Regions from separate parts of the Homo sapiens genome. Here region 1 is linked to region 2. The links are contacts of gene promoters, found by promoter capture Hi-C in blood cells and fetal thymus (Javierre and others, 2016). All regions are on one chromosome and are shown on one strand. Each heading gives the region's core, a stretch centred on a gene start or on the middle of the fragment in contact. The rest is flanking DNA. Distances are from core to core; before and after follow the strand shown.

What was found. The method cuts DNA at HindIII sites, captures the fragments that hold promoters and counts their contacts. A CHiCAGO score of 5 or more calls a contact.
Region 1: a contact is called between a fragment that was not itself captured here and the fragment with the promoter of ZNF774 in region 2, in 8 of 17 cell types (endothelial precursors, activated CD4 T cells, naive CD8 T cells and 5 more). The highest score is 7.8, in endothelial precursors.

Annotation. Positions count from the first base shown.
Region 1 is chr15:90,453,852-90,460,445 of GRCh38, reverse strand. It overlaps IQGAP1 (IQ motif containing GTPase activating protein 1), which reads right to left. Exons shown (of 38, transcript NM_003870.4): 14 at 5,894-6,018; 15 at 4,131-4,294. Among named protein-coding and RNA genes, the nearest start is that of IQGAP1, 69 kb to the right of the region's middle. RefSeq lists an enhancer at 3,784-4,295. The HindIII fragment of the contact is 2,734 bases long and covers 2,594-5,327 here.
Region 2 is chr15:90,348,008-90,353,830 of GRCh38, reverse strand. ZNF774 (zinc finger protein 774) reads right to left here and starts at 1,547. Exons shown (of 4, transcript NM_001004309.3): 1 at 1,420-1,547. It also overlaps the pseudogene GABARAPL3. The HindIII fragment of the contact is 4,226 bases long and covers 1-3,760 here.

The DNA of each region.
Region 1 (6,594 bases), core at 2,711-5,210, 100 kb before region 2:
GTCAAAAACATTAAGGATAACAGTTTAGGCAAACAAGAGACTAACTAAAAACCTTATAAGGAAAAGCTGGAGAATGAGATGTTCATGGAGAGCTCTGACAACTTGACATATTCCTGGATGGGATCTAGGAGGCCACAGTGCATGTGTGGGCTGTGCACATGCTCAGAAAAGATCTGATAAAGCTCTTGTTTAGCATATCATCATGAAATATAAAATGGGCAACCAGCGGCCCTCAGGGCTGCTCTGTCTATGGAGAAGCCATTCTTTTATTCCTTTACTTTCTTAATAAACTTGCTTCCACTTCACTCTATGGACTCTCTCTGAATTCTTTCTTGTGTGAGATCCAAGAACCATCTCTTGGGGTCTGCATCGGGACCCCTTTCCTACACAGTACTGCAGCTCAAAACAAAACAAAAAATATCCCCCACACAAAAAACTCCGGACCACGTGGCCTCACTGGTGACTTGTAACAAATGTTTAAAGAACTAGCTAATCCTTTACAAACTCTTTGAAAATATAAAAGGAACACTTCAAGTCATGAGGCCAGTATTACCCTGATACCAAAACCAAACACAAAGATATCAGAAGAAAATAAAACTACAGACCAAATTTAAATTAAGATCTTTTGCTCTCTAAATTTGTAACTCAGTGATAAATATTTTTAAAAACACTCCCAAATGGCTGATGGAGACTTAGATGCTCAGGTGATGCCAAAAACAAAAAACAAAACAAAACAAAACAAAAAACCCAAACCAAAAACAAACAAACAAAAAACAATTCCACCCAATGTGTAGTTCACCCAGCTGGGCCTGGCAATGTTAAGCAATTTTTCCTTTAACTCCCCCGACTTCCTCCGCCTTTGATGAAGTCTGAAAAGTTATTCCACAGCAAAGGAAATGCTTCAAACTCTATAGTCACATCCTCAAAAAGTTTTACTCCGATGACCCAAACAAAACGCACACACAGCCTTTTGAATTATTTACACTTTATCTATTCCTGACTTGATAGACATACTGTTTTTTTCCACTGTGGCTATCAGGAATAATGCTACTATGAAGATAAAGTTGTTAAAGTAATTGTAACATAAACTCATCTTTTAAAATGTTTGTCTTACCCGCTACCTAGTTTGCTGAGGAAATTGACAAGGTTTATGCCTCTTTTTATGCTGTTGCTGTCTAGGAAGTTGCCTTGTATGTAGTAGGCCCTCAAATAATTGTTGATTAAAGCATAATTAACATCTGTTTTCTAATTGTGATTGACCTCCTTTTCAGTGCTTACTAAGTAACAACAACTGGATAGAACCATAGCCTTCAGAAGACTCCTGAAGTGAGGCAGCAAGCGGAAGGGCTAAAAGAAATTTTTAATTCTGAGTAGCCAGACGTATAAAAACAGACCAAGGCTTTAGTGTATTGGAGCTTTTTGCACACTGACACTCGTGTGGGCTCTGTAAGTTTTGGTGAAGGGTAGAGGAGTGGGCAATTTTATATGTTGGTAATATTATGATGTTGACTGATCTCCTTTGATTACATTGGCATGGCAGTAGTTGACATTACCATGTCCTAATCATGTAAGTGTAGTATCTGATAGATACTACCAGGTTTCATTTAAGAGATATAATTATGCAGAATGTCACTTGATGCTGTGGAGAGGGTTGAATCACAACTGCTATTTCATAGCCAGGAAATTGAGATCAACTGATTTTACTTACTCGGATAAGAAGTAGTTGGCTCTAGGGAAGCTAGAAATGGAAGTCTCTGTCTTTGATTCATTTTATTAGATTAGTGTTTCCCAAACTTGGCTGGTCATCAGAACAATGAAAAAGTCATTTTTAAAATACAGATTCCTAAGCTTAAAGTCTAATTCTACTGATTCAGAATCTCTAATGTGTCAGGCTGCAATGATTCTATGTATGCTAGTGGTAGTAATGTTTGTTTTTGCTGCTAAGAAAGTCCAAAGGGAGCCTTATATCTGACTGTCAGAGGAGTGGGGTTTCGGAGAATAAGCTAGGTCGGCTTCCATATCTAAAAAGGGAAGTAGATTGAAGATACAACTTATATAGCTGTCACTCATGCTAAGTGTCTATCAAATCACGAATAAAGTGCAAATAATTCATATGTCATCAACTCATGAATGGATAAATAAAATGTGGTAAAGTGGAAATAATCCATGTGTCATCAACTCATGAATAAATAAATAAAATGTGGTACAGTCATACAATGGAATATTATTCAGCAACAAAAAGAAATGAAGTGCTACTGCTACAGCTTGGATAAACTAAGCTAAAAGAAGCCAGTCACAAACGACCATACATTGCATAACTCCATTTATATGAAATGTTCAGAATAGACAAACCCATAGACAAACCAGCAGTCTGATGGTTGCCCAGGGCTGGGGGAGATTAAGGGAAAATGAGTGACTACTAATGGGTACTGAGTTTCTCTTGGGGTGATGAAATGTTCAAAAATTGACTGTGGTGATGACTGCACAATTCTATCAACGTACTAAAGTCCACTGACGCTGAATTACCTGATACGTGAATTACGTTTCAATTAAGTTGTCACAAAAAACCTTCATGACATTATCTATTAAAGCTTCATATATGTGTTCCCTATGGCCATAACTCCTCTCCAAAATGTATACCTAACAGAAATGCACATATATGTTTTTAACCAAAATTAAAAATTCATAGAAGCACTATTTACAGGCCATGGGCAGTGGCTCATGCCTGTAATTCCCAACACTTTGGGAGGCTGAGGCGGGCAGATCACTTGAGGTCAGGAGTTCGAGACCAAACTGGCCAACATGGTGAAACCCCATCTCTACAAAAAATACAAAAAAAAAAAAAAAAAATTTTAGCCAGGCATGGTGGCTCTCGCCTGTAATCCTAGGTACTGGGGAGGCAGAGGCAGGAGAATTGCTTGAACCTGGGAGGCAGAAGTTGCAGTGAGCTGAGATTGCGTCATTGCACTCTAGCCTGGGTGACAGAGCAAGACTCCGTCTCAAAAAAAAAACAAAGAAGCCCTATTTACAACAGTCTGAAAAAACAAACAAAACAACAAAAAACTTCACCAATAACATATAACCACACAATGAAATAGTACACAACAATGAGAATGAGCAAAGGATGGCTCCATGCAACCACATGGATGCATATCATTAACATTATTTAGGGCAACAGAAGCCAGACACAAAAGAGCACATAAGGTATGATCCCACTTAAATACAGCTCAAAAGTGGACGGAAATGAACTGTGGTGTTATTAATAGAAATCAGAATAGTGCTTACCACCAAATGGAGGGTGGCTAAGGGTGGAAGGGGATATGAGGAAGGTCTCTGTGGTGCTGGTAATGGGTTCTACAATCTGACTGCCAAATACACAGGTGTGCCTCCTTTTGAAAATTTATGCAATTGCATACCCATCTACCTTGTTCATTTTTCTGGATCATATATATATATTTTTTTTTCTGGATCGTATATATGTATATATACGTATATTATATATATACGTATATATATATATACACACACACACACATATATATATATATATATTTTTTTGAGACGGAGTCTTACTCTGTCCCCCAGACTGGAGTGCAGTGGCGCAATCTCGGCTCACTGCAACCTCCACCTCTCAGGCTCAAGTAATTCCTGTGCCTCAGCCTACCAAGTAGCTGGGATTACAGGCATGCACCACCACGCCCAGCTAATTTTTGTATTTTTTTTTTTTTTTTTAGTAGAGATGAGGTTTCACCATGTTGGCCAGGCTGGTCTTGAACTCCTGGCCTCAAGGGATCTGCCTGCCTTGGCCTCTCAAAGTGCTGTGGGATTACAAGGCGTGAGCCACTGCGCCCAGCCCTGGATCTTATATTTCAGTAAAGAATTTACTGAAAGAGACACAAAAGACTGTCAACAACAAACAAAAGAACAAAAACCCAAATGTGTAAAACAGCATGAGCTCCTAGTAGGTGGAGCCTATGTCTCTCACATTTTTGTGTCCCTCCAGTGCTTTGAATCTAAGGGTGCCCAGAAGGCATTCACTGAATGAATCAAGGAAGATATTCCTACCTCTACCTTTGTTCTAGGAGGGCTGAGGTGCTCTGAACATAAAGAACAATTCCGATGCCACTCACCTGGGCTTTCTCTCTCTTCGCTCTAATCAGCGTGTCTTGGTAATGCTGGGCCACTTCTGCAAGGACTCCCTCAAGTTTAGCTGCAGGAATCTGTAGGGCCTGCAGAGTCTTTTGGGCATCACCTTCATCCAGGGCTTCATTAATTAAACCAATGGCTAAAATCCCTAAATATAAAGAGACAGAAAGTTTTTTTTTTCTAATTAAGGAAGTACATAAACAAATCAATCATGGAACATGCTAACTAATCATAAATCCACCTAAGAGTAACCATGATTCAAACTGCAACTTACCATCCGTTAAGCAGCACTGTTTTCATTTTTTAATTAGTATTTATTTCAACTAAACTCACTTGTATTCATATTCCTATTGAATGCTCAAGTCCTTTTGTTTCATTTTTAATTGCTCTAACTTAAAAGCGATGAGGATTTTTATGAAACTGGCCTTACTGTATAGCTTTCAGGTACACTGGAATGTGTAATCAAAAACATTCTTGAGTCACAAAGGATTCACGAAGAGTCTTAAAAAGGTTCAAGGGTTCTTAAAAAGTCATCTAATTCAACACTTTTATAGAAGAAATAACAAGGCTTAGCAATCTCTTCTCCAAGATTACACAGCAAACAAATGGCAGAAGAAAGATCCAAGCGCAGGGCTCCCTAATGCGAAGCAAGGCTCTTCCCACCAAGTCAGTTGAATATTTCTCCCAGGAAATACAAATTAAAATTAGGAACGTTCACTCCCCAGGTATCTTAGGCAGCCGTACTGCTTTTGTAAGGACTCTGCTGTATAATAAAAAGTCTGGCTGGTCTTTGTCTCTGGGGGAGCGTCTAAGACCCTTGGGATATCCTGAGTGATAGGTATGTTTCTGTGATTCATGGTGGGCCCCTCCGCCCACACCTGAATTTATGCCAACCAATGACTCCTGGTTGGCCTCATGAGAGTTTAAGGATGGAGGCTGGCCATGCTGGAAAGATCAACCACTGAGGTATAGAGTCACGTGATACCAGCCTGGCCTCCCATTCTCCAGGGAGCAGAGGCCAAATGAAAATTGAGTTTAATCGCAAAGCCAATACTATCAATCACGCATATGTAACGAACCCAAATAAAAACTCTGGACACCCAAAACTCAGGTGTGTTTCCCTGGTTGGTGATACACGTCAATGTGCCAGGAGAGTGACACATCCTGAGAACACAGAAGCTTCATATTGGGGACTCTCACAGATATTGCCTGATGATTCTCTTCTTTCAGCTGATCCTGATTTACATATTTTGTAATAAAATTTTAATCGTAAGTCTAGCATTTTCTTGAGTTCTGTGAGTCATTCTAGCAAATTATTAAACCTGAGCGGGTAGAAGGGATCCTCCAAATTTGCAGCCAGTTGTTCAGAAGTACAGTGGCCTGGGAACCCTGCAGCTTTCAGCTTGTGTCTGAAGTGAGAGGAGTCTTGTGGAGGACCATGCCTACAACCTGTGCAATTCAACCTAATTCCATGTAGTGTCAGGACTACTTGTTATAACAGCATTTAAAAATAACAGATCATGTTCAATTCACCTCCCCCAAAATTTAGTTCTTACTGGACATATACCTAATTATAGCAATTGCCTGGTGTTCTCAAAACAATATCCAACTTTAGCCTTTTGTGTTATATAGATATTTTCAATCTCTCACCCAAAAATCCTTCTAGGAGTAGTATTTTGAACCACTTCATGGAATCACATCATCATTAATGGTGACATTATTTGGGGAGGACAGGAAGATAACTCACTCTCATGTTCCTCTTGCACCACCAGGTTCACATGGTCCACGCAAGCTTGGATATCATTCCATGTAATGAATTCATTATTCTCTGCATGTGCCTGAGCCTTCAGTTTCATCAACTCATCGAGATACCTGCCCCAGACCCCCAAGTAAAAAGAGCATTAAGCACAGCATGTTTAAATATTCAAGGAACAAAGATTGCTAGGGTATCCCAACCATTTGATATATTCTCAAGACCAGTTTTGGAACTGCACAGTTACTTTAAACAAAGTGCAAAAATGCAACAGAAATCACTTATTCTCAATATCCTGTTACATATTCTAAATTCCATGTTAAGACTAACTCTAGAATTAAAGGCAGCAGTTCAAGCAATTCCTCCATAGACAAGAAAAAAAGGCTACACATGAGCTAATAAATGCAGGAGGAATGACAGAGCAACAAATCATCATTCAGCAACTTTTACTGAAGGTACTGATTTAGGAAAGATTATCAATTGGGTTAAAAATATCACGTGAATGCTTAATGGAAAACTAGATATTTTGACGGTGCAAAAGAGATGATGTTCTAGTGATGAGGGAAAAGCGTAAATACGCAATGGAAGTATAAGTGGTCTCCCTAATCCAGGGATCAATCTTAGTATCTCTAATGGTGGGATGGTGGGAAAAGTGGGTTTTATATGCCTATTGATATGAGGCAATATGAAATACA
Region 2 (5,823 bases), core at 298-2,797:
AAAAGTTTCCAATAAACCAGCCTCAGCAACATATTGAGACCTCTTTCTCTACAAAGAACTTTTAAAAATCAGCCAGGCATGGTGGCATGCACTTGTGGTCCCAGCTACTCAGGAGGCTGAAGTGGGAGGATCACTTCAGCCCAGGAGTTCCAGGCTGCAGTGAGCTATGATGGCGCCACTGCACCCCAGCCTAGCAACAGAGTGAGCCCCTGTCTCTCCCTTAAAAAAAAAAAAAATGCAGCCAGCATGACCACCCACTACAAAGAATATTGCATTTCAAGGGAGGAAGGACCAGACTGTGGTGAAGAAGTTTTACTCTTTCACATCTTTTGTCCCACTACAAATCACCTATTTACTACTGGAACACACACACACACACACACACACACACACACACACACACACTTTTGGGGGAAATATTTTTGTATTTACAGACATTATTATTGGTCATTTATAAAGTATTGAGTTTTTAAGGATCTAAAAACCATCTCTCTGGTTTAAAACTTTAACAAACAACAATAATGTAATTAGAAAGTAAAAATTGTAATAAGAGTTTTCAGTATTGGCCAGGTGCTGTGGCTCATGACTGTAATCCCAGCACTTTGGGAAGACGAGACGGGCGGATCACCTGGGGTCAGGAGTTCGAGATCAGCCTGGCCAACATGGTGAAACCCTGTCTCTACTAAGAATACAAAATTAGCCGGGTGTGGTGGCACACGCCTGTAATCCCAACTACTTGGGAGGCTGAGGCAGGAGAATCGCCTGAACCCGGGAGGTGGAGACTGCAGTGAAAGGAGATAGCGCCATTGCATTCCAGCCTGGGCAACAAGAGCGAAATTCCGTCTAAAAAAAAAAAAGAGTTTTGAGTATAATTTTTATTTCTACATTCATTACAAAACACAGCTGCAGGGCCCACTTGCTGGAGACAGCGCCACTGAGGAGGGGAGACGTCTTAGCCACGGTTATAGAAACCCTGTTTCCCAGCCCGTCCCTTTCCCCATGCACAGGTGACCTCAAAGGCCCCACAGCGCTGAGGGGCTGTGACTAAGTGCCACTGTGAGAAGCTCCAGTGCGTTCACCGGGTTTATTAATAGGAACATGACTGCACGCGTGGGGCCGAACCCCGTTCTTCTTCTCGGTGCTCGCGCCCTAACCGGGGTGCGGCGGTCAGAGGGTCACAGATCAGCTGAAACCCTGGGACCACCATCGAGAAGCAAGAAAACTGATTAAGAGAATGACTTATCCCGCCGACGGTATAGAGACCACAGCTACCTCTCCCACAGCCCAGCAAGACCCGGGGGCTCCCAAAGGCCAGCGCGGGAACCCCGCTGAGAAAACGTCTGGGTGGCGGGCAAGCCCCCTCCACGCCCCTCAGCAGCGCGCCGCTGCCGCCGCGGTCTCCCTCCTTGAATCACTCACCGCCCCAGGGCCCAGCCGGGGATGGAGCAGGAAGTGAGTCCTCCACCGCCGAGCCGCACCCGGCCCGCAACCCCGAGGCTGTGCCTCCCAGAACCCGACCGGGATTCGTGACAGGGCTGTGGGGACACAGGTGGGACTCCGGCTTCGACAGCCAGCGGCCGGAAAGTACCGCCCCCATCCTCTTGCTATTGGCTTTTCAGTTTCCATGGCTAGAATTTTTCTCTGTCCATAGGCTGATAGAGCTGTCAATTATCGCCTAGCCTTCTGGGAAACGTAGTCCCGAGCAAGACCTCAAAGGACTCGGAGCCGTGGATGTCCAGTTCCAAGCGTTGGAAAGTGCTAAACCCAATTCCCCAGCTACCGGTCCCCCGGAACCGCCTGTTTGGAGCCGAGGGATCTAAATGCTGTATCCTCACTGTGGCATCTGCAGATGTGAATCTCCTGGCCTCACCCACCTACCGCGGAGCAGCCTGGTGCCCACCATGAGGTCTCCCGCGCTCTGGCACTTCGCCCCTCCCCAGCGCAGAGCAGCTCAGCCCTCGGGCCTTTGCGGCCTCTCTTCTGCCCAGTCTTCCACCTCATCCCCGGCGGCCGGAGCCTGCAGGGTGTTTGCGGAGGCCAGGTCCCAGACCAACTCAAACTGGACATTGGAAAGGCCCAGCAGAAGCCCTTAGTAGAAAACAGACATTCCGCATCCTTCCCTTGGCATCAAACTCCCAGGCACATCCCCTTTCCGTCTGGTTGATAGCCAGAGGAGGCGGGCGAGGGCATCAAGTATTCTGGGAAATGTGATATCGGGCTTCAAACTGGGGAGGCTCCTGGGTCTCATGTGAGAGCCAGTGATCACTTTGGGTCGGCCCCTAGCTAAAAAACAACAAAGTCTTTCCTTAAAGTGAAGAAAATGTGCCTGTCTACTCCGTTTGTTGATTCAGTGCAATTTAGAAAAATAAAAGAACATTTTGTGATGTATTATAAAACGCTTAGAATTACCAGCCATAGAGTTTTTTTTTTTTTTTTTTTTTAGACGGAGTCTCGCTCTGTCGCCCAGGCTAGAGTGCAGTGGCACGATCTCGGCTCACTGCGAGTTCTGCCTCCCAGGTTCACACCATTCTCCTGCCTTAGCCTCCCGAGTAGCTGGGACTACAGGCGCCCGCCACCACACCCGGCTAATTTTTTGTATTTTTAGTAGAGACGGGGTTTCACCATGTTAGCCAGGATGATCTCCATCTCCTGACCTCGTGATCCGCCCGCCTCGGCTTCCTAAAGTGCTGGGATTACAGGCGTGAGCCACCGTGCCCGGCCCGAGTTAATGTTGAAGATCCCTTTGATGCTAATTCCACCATTCCTTCAACAAAAATAAGGTGCATTTTCCAGTGGATATTTATTGGGAACATTCTGTTCTCAAGATCGTTCTGGGGGCAGGGCGTGGTGGCTCACGCCTGTAATCCCAGCACTTTGGGAGGCCGAGGCGGGAGGATCACGAGGTCAGGAGATCGAGACCATCCTGGCTAACATGGTGAAACCCCGTCTCTACTAAATATAGAAAAAATTAGCCGGGCGTGGTGGCGGGCGCCTGTAGTCCCAGCTACTCGGGAGGCTGAGGCAGGAGAATGATGTGAACCCGGGAGGTGGAGCTTGCAGTGAGCCGAGATCGCGCCACTGGACTCCATCCTGAGCGACAGAGCAAGACTCCGTCTCAAAAAAGAAAAAAAGAAAGAAAAAAAAAAAAGATCGTTCTGGGAACTGTGATTACTCGGGAATCATACATAACCATTACCTTCATGAAGTTCACAGGCCAAAAGGGGAAATAAACCATAAAAGGTATCAAAATCCTAAGTAATTTTTTTTTCCATATAGCCAGTGGCATCTTAGTTATTTTGCTACACAATTATAGTCATCTGCAAGGTAACTACATTGCATTTTCGGAAACTCTGTCGACTATGAACAAATGTCTGGTTAGCAGAGGTAGTTAGACGTAGTTAGATTTAGTTAGACGAAATTGAGGAAAATGGAAATCTCAGAGGAGGTCAGTAACAAAGTAACACCCAGGAAACCTAGGGATTGCCAGTCCTCCTGTAACTGGAACAGAGTTCAGGACCTGGAGAACCGAAGGCATCTTCAGACCCCTCGGTAAGTCTTTCTAGCATTTTGCCATTAAGGAGATCATGAAGATTATTCTTCAATCTGGGACTGGAGTGGGGAGATGAATGAAGAGTCACAGAATCTGGCTGGTGGCTATCCCCTGCCGCTCTCTGCAGCTTCTGTTCCTTCTGCCTTACCTTGTTCTCTCGGCGGTTTGTTCACAATGATCAGGTGTGTGGGGAGTAGGGGAAAGGAAGCTTGGTCTCACGAGAAGAGCAGTCAGTACAGGAAACCAATCATGTACCCGCAATGGCCACGTGAAGAGAGGATCATTACCTGTTGAGGGGTTGGGTGCTAAAGGGCGTGGCCGAGAGGAGGCGTAGAAGAGCCAGGAAAAACTGTGAAAGGACTTCAAGGAGCATGAAAAGACAGAAAGACTTCAGCACTTGCTATAACTGAATTTATTTATTTATTTATTTATTTATTTATTTTGAGACAGAGTCTTGCCCTGTCGCCCAGGCTGGAGTGCAATGGCACCATCACAGCTCACTGCAACCTCTGCCTCCTGGCTTCAAGCGATTCTCCTGCCTCAGCCTCCCAAGTAGCTAGGATTACAGGCGTGCACCACCACGCCCGGCTAATTTTTTGTATCTTTAGTAGAGACGGGGGTGTCACCATGTTGGCCAGGCTGGTCTCGAACTCCTGACCTCAGGTGATCCACCCGCCTTGGCCTCCCATAGTGCTGGAACTACAGGCGTGAGCCATCGCACCCTGCCAGAACTGATTTTTTTAAAGAGAGAGTCTATCATTATCTATTGCTGTGTAACAAATTACCCCAAAATTTATTGGTTTAAAAAACCAAATATTTGGTTTTTGTGCTCCCAGCTGTTTGGAAAAGCCGCCGGTATTTCTCCACCTGGCTCTCCTCTACCTCCAGGCAGGCGCACCCGAGGTCCCCCTCCCACCCCACCTTCTGCCCTCCCGCACACTTGGACCAGTGCTGTTGACCCGGAAGCGGACATTTCTGCAGCTATTCTAAGCACACGTCGGCGGAGGGAGCGGGACGTGGCCAGCGGTCAGCGGCGAAGGAGGCAGGCCCTGCGCGGGGATCACGGAAGCCCTGTGATTCACCATGAAGTTCCAGTACAAGGAGGTCCATCCCTTTGAGTATCGGAAAAAGGAAGGAGAAAAGATCCGGAAGAAATATCCGGACAGGGTCCCCTTGATTGTAGAGAAGGCTCCAAAAGCAAGGGTGCCTGATCTGGACAGGAGGAAGTACCTAGTGCCCTCCGACCTTACCGATGGCCAGTTCTACCTTTTAATCCGGAAGAGAATCCACCTGAGACCTGAGGACGCCTTATTCTTCTTTGTCAACAACACTATCCCTCCCACTAGTGCTACCATGGGCCAACTATATGAGGACAGTCATGAGGAAGATGATTTTCTGTATGTGGCCTACAGTAATGAGAGTGTCTATGGGAAATGAGTGGTTGGAAGCCCAGCAGATGGAAGCACCTGGACTTAGGGGTAGGGGAGGGGTGTGTGTGTGACTTGGGGAAAGAGAGGGCGGCTCCCACCGTGAGGAGACAGAAGGTGAAGACATATAGAAACTTTACACCGCACACACCGTCAACGCATTTTCACATGCTCAACTGATATTTTTTGTTGCTTCCTTGGCCCAGGGAGAAAGCATGTCAGGACAGAGCTGTTGGATTGGCTTTGATAGAGGAATGGGGATGATGTAATTTTATGGCATTCCTGAGATTTAATTTTTGTGCAGTTTCATAGAAAGGTCGGTCAGGAGGTGGACAAGTTGGGGTCAGAGATGATGGCAGTCCAGCAGCAACTCCCTGTGCTCCCTTCTCTTTGGGCAGAGATTCTGTTTTTGACAGTTGCACAAGACAGGTAGGGAAAGGGGACTTGTGGTAGTGGGCCATACCTGGGGACGAAAAGAGACCCACTGTAATTGATGCATCGTGGCCCCCGATCTTCCGTATCCCACACTTCTTTTCTCCCATCCCAGTTGCAATCTCACTCACAAACATCACAGTACCACCCCAGGGGCGGCAGTAGACACCAACCCAGAAATTTAGACAGGGATCTCTTATCTTTGGAAAATAGGGGTTAGGCATGAGGGTGGTTATGATTAAGAAGATAATTTTGTTGTTAAATAGCATTAAACTGGAATTGACAGAGTGAGTTGAGCATCTCTGTCTAACCTGCTCTTTCTCTCTGGTGCTCCTCATCTCACCCCTACCTTGGAATTTAATAAGCTTCAGGCATTTCCAATTGCAGACTAAAACCACTTCTACCATCTCCTCT